2 separate regions of the Homo sapiens genome follow, and region 1 is linked to region 2. The links are contacts of gene promoters, found by promoter capture Hi-C in human tissues and cell types (Jung and others, 2019). All regions are on one chromosome and are shown on one strand. Each heading gives the region's core, a stretch centred on a gene start or on the middle of the fragment in contact. The rest is flanking DNA. Distances are from core to core; before and after follow the strand shown. Region 1 overlaps PACS2 (phosphofurin acidic cluster sorting protein 2). Region 2 holds the start of NUDT14 (nudix hydrolase 14).

Evidence for each region. The method cuts DNA at HindIII sites, captures the fragments that hold promoters and counts their contacts. A contact is called where the count stands out against the background at its distance.
Region 1: a fragment that was not itself captured here is called in contact with the fragment with the promoter of NUDT14 in region 2 in 2 of the 25 tissues and cell types used here (H1 embryonic stem cells and thymus).

Annotation. Positions count from the first base shown.
Region 1 is chr14:105,356,196-105,360,114 of GRCh38, forward strand. All of the region lies in intron 4 of PACS2 (phosphofurin acidic cluster sorting protein 2), which reads left to right. Among named protein-coding and RNA genes, the nearest start is that of TEX22, 40 kb to the right of the region's middle. The HindIII fragment of the contact is 5,071 bases long and covers 1-3,919 here.
Region 2 is chr14:105,179,031-105,182,879 of GRCh38, forward strand. It overlaps NUDT14 (nudix hydrolase 14), which reads right to left and starts at 2,282. Exons shown (of 5, transcript NM_177533.5): 1 at 2,099-2,282. The coding sequence starts at 2,179. RefSeq lists a silencer at 1,982-2,451. The HindIII fragment of the contact is 11,467 bases long and covers 1-3,849 here.

The sequences.
Region 1 (3,919 bases), core at 826-3,325, 180 kb after region 2:
TCTCCCAGGTCAAGCGCTAGGTCCCCCAGATCCTCACACACCCCCACTTACGCATCCAGGACAAGTGCCAAGTACTACTCTGGGCTCAGCCCTCCCTGCTACCCCAGGAGATGGGAGCGTGGAGGGTACAGGAAGCAGCAGTGGCGTCCCGAGGCCTCGCTTCTCCGTGCCGCCGCAGGGCCTCAGACAAGCTTTGCAGTCTTCCCGATTCCTTCGGCAAACCACGGACAGCACGGGTGGACCGGGCCTCCAGGCTGCACTTCCCAGGGCCCTGGGACCCCTCTGGTGGCCTGGAGCTGCCCATCATCCCAGCCTCCCTCCTGCAGGCTGAGCGATGGGTGAACAGGTAGCTCAGGGATGCTCTCTGGGCTGTGAGAGCCTCCTGGGAGCCACCGCTTGCTTCCTGTGGAGCAGGAGGGTCCAGGCACTGTGGGGAGGTCATGCAGGCTCTGTTTCCCATTAGCCATGCAGGCGAGGTCCTGCTGATCCCTGCCGGTCCCTGTGTTTCCCATTAGCCATGCAGGCGAGGTCCTGCTGATCCCTGCCGGTCCCTGTGTTTCCCATTAGCCATGCAGGCGAGGTCCTGCTGATCCCTGCCGGTCCCTGTGTTTCCCATTAGCCATGCAGGCGATGTCCTGCTGATCCCTGCCGGTCCCTGTGTTTCCCATTAGCCATTCAGGCGATGTCCTGCTGATCCCTGCTGGTCCCTGTGTTTCCCATTAGCCATGCAGGCGATGTCCTGCTGATCCCTGCCGGTCCCTGTGTTTCCCATTAGCCATGCAGGCGATGTCCTGCTGATCCCTGCTGGTCCCTGTGTAGCCATGCAGGTGATGTCCTGCTGATCCCTGCCGGTCCCTGTGAGCTCCTGCCCCAGGCTGCTCCGCCCACATCTCTCAGTCTGCACCCCAGTGCCCCAGGCGGCTCCTCCCAGCCCCTCTCAGCACTGGTGCTTCTGTGTTTGACGTCCTTGCCCTGAATGCTGGCCTCTGCTCCCAGGCCCCTCCCTCACCTGTCCTCCCAGCCTTGGGCTGTCCCCTCCTGATCCCCGGGGAGAGGCTGGAGCAACCTTCCCCCACCCCAGGTCACACCAGCCACATCGTCTGCTGCTTGAAATCCCATCATCTGTTCTTCACTCTTGGCAGAAAAGCCCCACCCCTGGATGTAGTTCCAGTGCCCTGCCCCTGAGCCTGTGGCCCCCACCCCAAGGCTCCCTCGCCCTGCACCTGTGGCTTCCAAAGCCGAGGTCATCTGACTGCTCCTCGCTCTCCCCTCCAGCATCTCCTCCAGGCCCTCGGGGCATCCTTCCACCTTCCACTGGCAGCCTGGTCCCAGAACCTAGTTGGGTCCTCCCATGTGTCCCCGAGCACCAGGGCGGTTCATGGGCTCCCTGTGTCCTGCCACCTTTTGGGGCTGGTTCCCACCTGTGAGCGTTGCTGGCTTGTTGAGAGTATGAGCACGGGAGATTGCGGAGGCGGGACAGCCCCGAGGGCACAGACGGACACAGGTGGCAGAGGTGGGGGGCTCTCACCAGCTGGGCTCAGGCAGCTGTGCCATGGGGGCTTGCTGGCTCCGAGACTGCACGCCTGAGACGGGGGTGAGGGCATGGGTGCTGCCATAGGGACTGTCGTGAGAGTGGGGTGTCGGTGAGGCTGGCGCCATGCATTTGAGAGTAGTGCTCGGCGGTGGGGAAGGGTCCTTGAGGGCACAGGGTGGGGTGAGGCGGGCTGTTGGGCGGACTCGAGGCCAGGGCTGAGAGTGTGGTGGGAGAGGATGTGGGGGGCACCTGCCCAGGACCTCCAGGCTGTGGGGAGACCAGGAGGCGATGGCTGTGGGGACACAGGTGTCATCTCCCTTCAAATGGGTGCACACGCAGGGGGCAGGAGGGGCTGGGAGCAGCCTGGGCCCCTGCCACACCATAGCTCTGCCCTCACCTGGCACTCATTCTGTGTGAGCTGAGGCCCAGAGCCCTGGACTTACTCTGAGGCTGAGGAAGTGGAGTCCAAGGTGGCCCAGGGTAGGGGCCGGGCCTCATGGGTGCCAGGAGCTGGACGCCGGCGTGGGGTGGCTTAGGTCTGCAGGCTGACCAGCAGTTCTGGCTGGGACCATCAGGAGTGACCGCAGCCCCAGGGCCTGCTGGGCACGCGCCTCTGCCTGCCACTTCTCAGGAAGCTTGAGCTGACTGCAGGTGGTCCCTCTCAGAGGCAGCTCCGCAGAGGCAGGTGTGCGGTGGGGGCAGACGTGGGGCCTTCTCCTGTGGTGTGGCTCTCAGAACTCACCCCAGCACCCGTAGAGGGAGTGTGTAGGGGTGGGCGTTCGTGTGGCCAGACCACCCTGGGGCTGCAGCCTGGGAGACGCAGGCATGCCAGCTGGTGGCCATTGTCTGAGGCTGGGGCCTGTGGGCTCCCCGACAAGACAGGAAGGTTGACAGACCCATGACCAGGCGAAGGGGTGACCTGGGAGTGCGGTGGTGGCTGAGGGAGCAGCCATGCTTCTTTGCACAGCCGGACTCCTCTTGTGGCCTCGCCACAAGCTGCACATGCCACTGGGGCCAGGTCCAGCCCAAGGGGACCTGTGAGGGGCGGGCGGCTCATGGTGGGACACAGGAAGACCTCAGGGTAAGGACAGCGCGGGAGCGTCACCCTGACCGTTTGCATGCTGGATTCCCTTTAGTTTCTCTCTATGAGTGTCTGCACAGCCACAGGCTGCTGATGACAGCCCAGTCAGGTGTGGGCTGCATATCAATGGGTGGCCCCGTGAGAATATGATGGCACTGGACACTTCCTATCTCCTGATGACATGGTAGCCATCGTAACACCATAGCACAGTTACTTTATTCCTGTGTGAACTCAGTGTGGCCCAGGTGTCCAGGGCCTGGTCACACACACGTCCATCCCTACACGGCGGTGCATGGCGACCTCCCAGGCCTTCGCATCCACACACACGTCCACCCCTACGCGGCGGTGCGTGGTGACCTCCCAGGCCTTCGCATTACTCACTCACCCACCAGCTTGTCCAGAGCCACCTCCAGCCCCGCAGGCTCTGCCATCGTCAGTGCCCTATTCACAGGCACCACTTAATGTCTTTTATACTTTATTTTTACTGTGCTTTTTTTTTTTTGCTTTTTATTTTTAAATTTTTTTCGTGATGTGGTTTCACTTTTATAGTGCAGTGGCGCGATCTCAGTTCACTGCAACCTCCACCTCCCGGGTTCAAGTGATTCTCCTTCCTCCGCCTCCCGAGTGGTTGGGATTACAGGTGCTCATCACCACACCCAACTAATTTTTTTATTTTTAGTGGAGACAGGGTTTCACCCTGTTGTCCAGGCTGGTCTTGAACTCCTGACCTCAAGTGATCTGTCTATCTGGGCCTCCCAAAGTGTTGGTATTTCTTTCTTTTTTTTTTTTTTTTTTTTTTGAGACAGAATCTCGCTCTGTCGCCCAGGCTGGAGTGCAGTGCCGCAATCTCAGCTCACTGCAACCTCCACCTCCCAGGTTCACGCCATTCTCCTGCCTCAGCCTCCCGAGTAGCTGGGACTACAGGCGCCCGCCACTACGCCTGGCTAATTTTCTGTATTTTTAGTAGAGACGGGGTTTCACCGTGTTAGCCAAGATGGTCTCGATCTCCTGACCTCGCGATCCGCCCACCTTGGTCTCCCAAAGTGCTGGGATTACAGGCGTGAGCCACTGTACCCGGCCAAGTGTTGGTATTTCAAGCATGAGCCACCGTGCCCAGCCTACTTTTTCTGTGTTTAAATGTGTTTAGACACATAAATACTTACCATCTGTAACAATTGCCTACAGTATTCAGTACAGTAACATGCTTTACAGGTCTGTGGCCTAGGAGCAGGAGGCTGTCTCTCATATAGGCTGACCTTGAAGATATTGTGTGTTCAGTTCTAGGCCACCCCAATAAAAACGGA
Region 2 (3,849 bases), core at 1,032-3,531:
GAAGCCCCCTGCCCACAGCCTGCCATGTGCCTGCTGTGCCCATGCCCCTTCCCCACCACTGCTTCCCCCCGAGTAACATCACCCCATGCAGGTCTCAAGGACCCTCTCAGCTCAAGGTCAAAAGCGTGTCAGACCCTTAGGTCCAGCCAGGTCAAGGTGCAGGGAGGTTTAGGGAGGCTGCTGAGGCCTGGGAGGGAGGGGCAGGGCTGGGTGCAAAGAAGACCCCATCGCCTCGGAGCCACGGGGGTCCCCTGCCTTTGGTCTGCCTGACATCACAGGCCTCCCCTGGCTGGACGCAGCAAAAAGCTGAGGGCTGCAGCTGCCCCTGGGTGGCAGCCAGCGTCCAGCCCAATGTCCCTTGGCCCTGAGGAGATGCCGCCCAGCCCGAGCCTACATCCGTGTCCACCACAGCCACAGCCCGAACCAGCTCAGCTCTGGTCACCAGAACCCTTCAGCAGAGCTGTGCCGGCGGGCTGCCCGCTGAGGCTGCAAGGGCTGCCCTGAGGCTTCACGGGGAGTGAGGGAGAGAGTGCTGCCACCAGGGCCACAGAGGGCACCTGCCTGGGCCTGCACCTGCTGCCTGAGACCCAGCCCTGTGGGGACTGTGCAGCCACAAGCAGGCATCCCATATGGCCAACGTCAGGGAAAAGGGCAGTGACCCCATGTCTCCACCTGCTGTACCCCGACTGATCCCAGCTGCCCCCTGCCAGCACCACCAGCTTAGCTTCGCCTTGGGGAGAGGGATCCCCTGTCCTCCAGCGCCAACAGGACTCCCGCAACAGGGAAAGTGAGGGGCACAGGGCCTCTCTCAGGCTGGGGGCCAAGAGGGCTTCTCCAGGATGGCGAGGGGCAGAGTCCTGGATGTGATGGGGGGGACAGGATGCCCCCTGAGGGAGGGAGGCAGGCAGGCAGAGAGGCACTGCGACCTGGACCACCTGACCTGATAGGCTGGGGGGCTGGACTGACTGTGACCAGGAAGGTGGTCTTTGCCTTAATGGCATGAAGGAGCTCTGGCAGAGGGGAGATCTGCTGGGGGCAGGTGGGCATGCAAGCAAAAGGTGGGGCCCTAACTGGACAGGGCTGGGCTTGGAGGAAGACGGCCCGGGACTCAGTGATCCACTGGATGTGGGAAAAGGATGGCAGCAGCTCCTTCACCCAACACATATGCCTCATGCCTGTAATCCCCATGCTTTGGGAAGCCAAGGCAGGAGGATCGGTTGAGGCCAGAAGTTCAAGACCAGCCTGGGCAACAGTGAGACGTCGTCTCTACAAAAAAATTTAAACATTAGCCAGGTGTGGTGGTGTGCACCTGTGGTCCCAGCTACTGGGGCGGGGGCTGAGGCAGGAGGATCGCTTGAGCCCAGGAGGTTGAGGCTGCAGTGAGCTGTGACCATGCCACTGCACTCCAGCCTGGGCGACAGCAAGACCCTGTCTCAAAAACAAAACAAAACAAAATATTCCTTGTGAACCTACCATGTGCCTGGTGCTAAGTGAGGCAATACAGCCTCTTGTGCCGTGGCCTGGCATGGGAGAAGGTGACACCCTAGGAGGTGGGGAAGGCTGAGCTTAGGCAGATGGAGACTCCAAGGAGGTGCCCTCCCTGGAAAAAACCCCAAGGAGGAAGCCTGCTTTGAGAGGCTCTCTCAAGTTCTCACTCAGCTCCTTCTCCTACCTCCCTGCGCCCGGCCTCTGCGCTCCTTGCTCCCTCCTCCTCGGCCCAGCTATCTCCTCCTTCAAGTGGTAGCATGAAAGCCACCACTTCCAGGAAGCCTTCCCTGATCCCCAGGGCAACCAAGGAGTTCCACTGCCAAGAGGGTCGGATTGGGCGGGCGGGAAGGATGGGGCCCAGCAATGCTTCCTTGAAAGGATGAGTGGTGCCCCCTCAGATGTCCCTCCCGCGGCCCCTCCCCGGCCTGGGGGCTCACTGGGTCTGGGAACCCGCGATCCGGCGGGCGGACAAGCGGCCGCCCGGGAGATCGGCGGGAGGCGGGGGCGGGGCTCCGGGGCGGGGCCGGCAGCGCGGAAGATGGTGGGCGGGGCGCGGGTCGTGGGCCGGGCCGCCGGCGGGGGCGCGGGGGACGCGGGGGCGCGGGCTCACCTGGCGGTAATGCAGCGTGAGCGGCCGCAGGTAGGGTGAGGCGGCGCAGCGGCCCACGGACGCCCCCTCGATGCGCTCCATGGCGGCGCCCGGACAGGCGGGGGCCGCGAGCTCTGCGGGGGCCGACACGGGGCGGCGCCCTGTCCCGACAGGAGCCTTCGGGCGGGCGCGTGACCGCGGCTCTGAGCATGCTCCGTGGGCGCGCGGGGCGGGGCGGCCGAGGTGGGCGGGGCGGCCGAGGTGGGCGGGGCTCGCAGGTGCCACCTGTCGGGTGCCGCGCGCCTCGGGGCGCTGGTCGCCGCGGTGCCAGGGAAGCCGCGCAGGCACGTGGGCGTCGCCCGGGGGAAGGACTGGCCGGGTCGACCCCGGCCGCCGGGCGGGGCCAGCCGGGCCGGGGTACAGTGCTTGGGTGGGACTCGGGACCTCTTGGCTGGGGGAGGGAGGGCCTGGCGGTGGTTGGAGCTAAGGGCCTGCAGCTTTGGGGTGCGATGGGCCGAGCGGATGCCTCCCCACTCTGGGGATGGACCACAACCCCGAGATTAAGTTACTCCAGGGGTCCGCGGGCGGGGCCGGGGGCGGGGCAGCCCCCCAGGGAGGGAGGGACTGTGGGCCCAGGAAGAAAATCACAGGAGACCAAAGAGAGAGGGCCCTGGAAGGAAGCTAGGGGAGAGGAGAGTAGGGAGCTGGAGGGGCCAGAGCTTGGGCCGAGGGGGCCTCCCCTCGAGGTTCCTGGTGGCGAGGGTGGCTGGGAGCTGCCACGCTGTCTCTGGAGCTGTCCCTCCTCCACTCAAAAGCCAGCTGCCCTTCCCTCCCCCTGCAAGTCCTACCTTGATGACGGCCCTTCCTGGGTGTGGGAGGGTCCCAGGCAGCTTCAGTGCTTCCTTGGGCATGGATTCCAAGGACCCCCTCCAAATGCCACCACGGCCTCCACGGGGGCAGGAAACAATATTGAGGCCCACACTGGCCCTGAACCCTGACCTGCACCTGCTTTCTGAACTATGGCCCAGGGGACATGCTCAGGGTGGACTGGCCATGTGAGCTTGAAATCGACTCCCAGTTCCCTGTTAACTATTGCCGTGTAACAAAACACTCCTCCAAAGCTTAGTGCCTTAAAGCACCCCGTTATCGCCTGGCCTGTGGGTTGCCCAGCTCAGCCAGGCAGCCCTGTCTTGGGGTCTCTCTGCAGTTGTAATCAGGTGGCAGCTGGGGCTGGAGTCGTCTGAAGGCCAAACGGGGTGGACCGTCCAGGATGGCCTCTTCGCCCCCGCCCTCAGTTGGGTGGCTGGAACAGCTAGGGCCGGCTGGCCTCCCATGTGGCTGGCGTGGGCTTCCCTGCAGCATGGTGGTCTCGGGGTAGTTGGATTCTCCCGTGGCAGCTGGCTCCCTCCAGAGCACGTTCACCAGGCCAGGCCAAGCTGCCAGGCTTTGTGTGACCTGGCCTCAGATGTCATATGGTGTCATTCCTGGGGCATCCTGTGGGTCAGAAAGTCCTGGGCCTCCGGCAGATTCCAGGGGAGGGACATCACCAGGTGGGAACGCTGGGGAGCACGGTCATGAAGCCAGCATCCAAGTCCAGCTGTCACCGCCCCAGTAGCTCTACAGGGGCCTGTGTCTCCCTGCTTTAGCCATTCCGCCTGGTGTCCCGGAAGCCAGAGCGCCCAGCCCAGAAGCTGGCCCCACCCTACCCCACAGCCAGGCAGGCCTCTTCCTCCGGTGCACGAGGGGCCCAGGGTAAGCGCGCACCCTGGCAT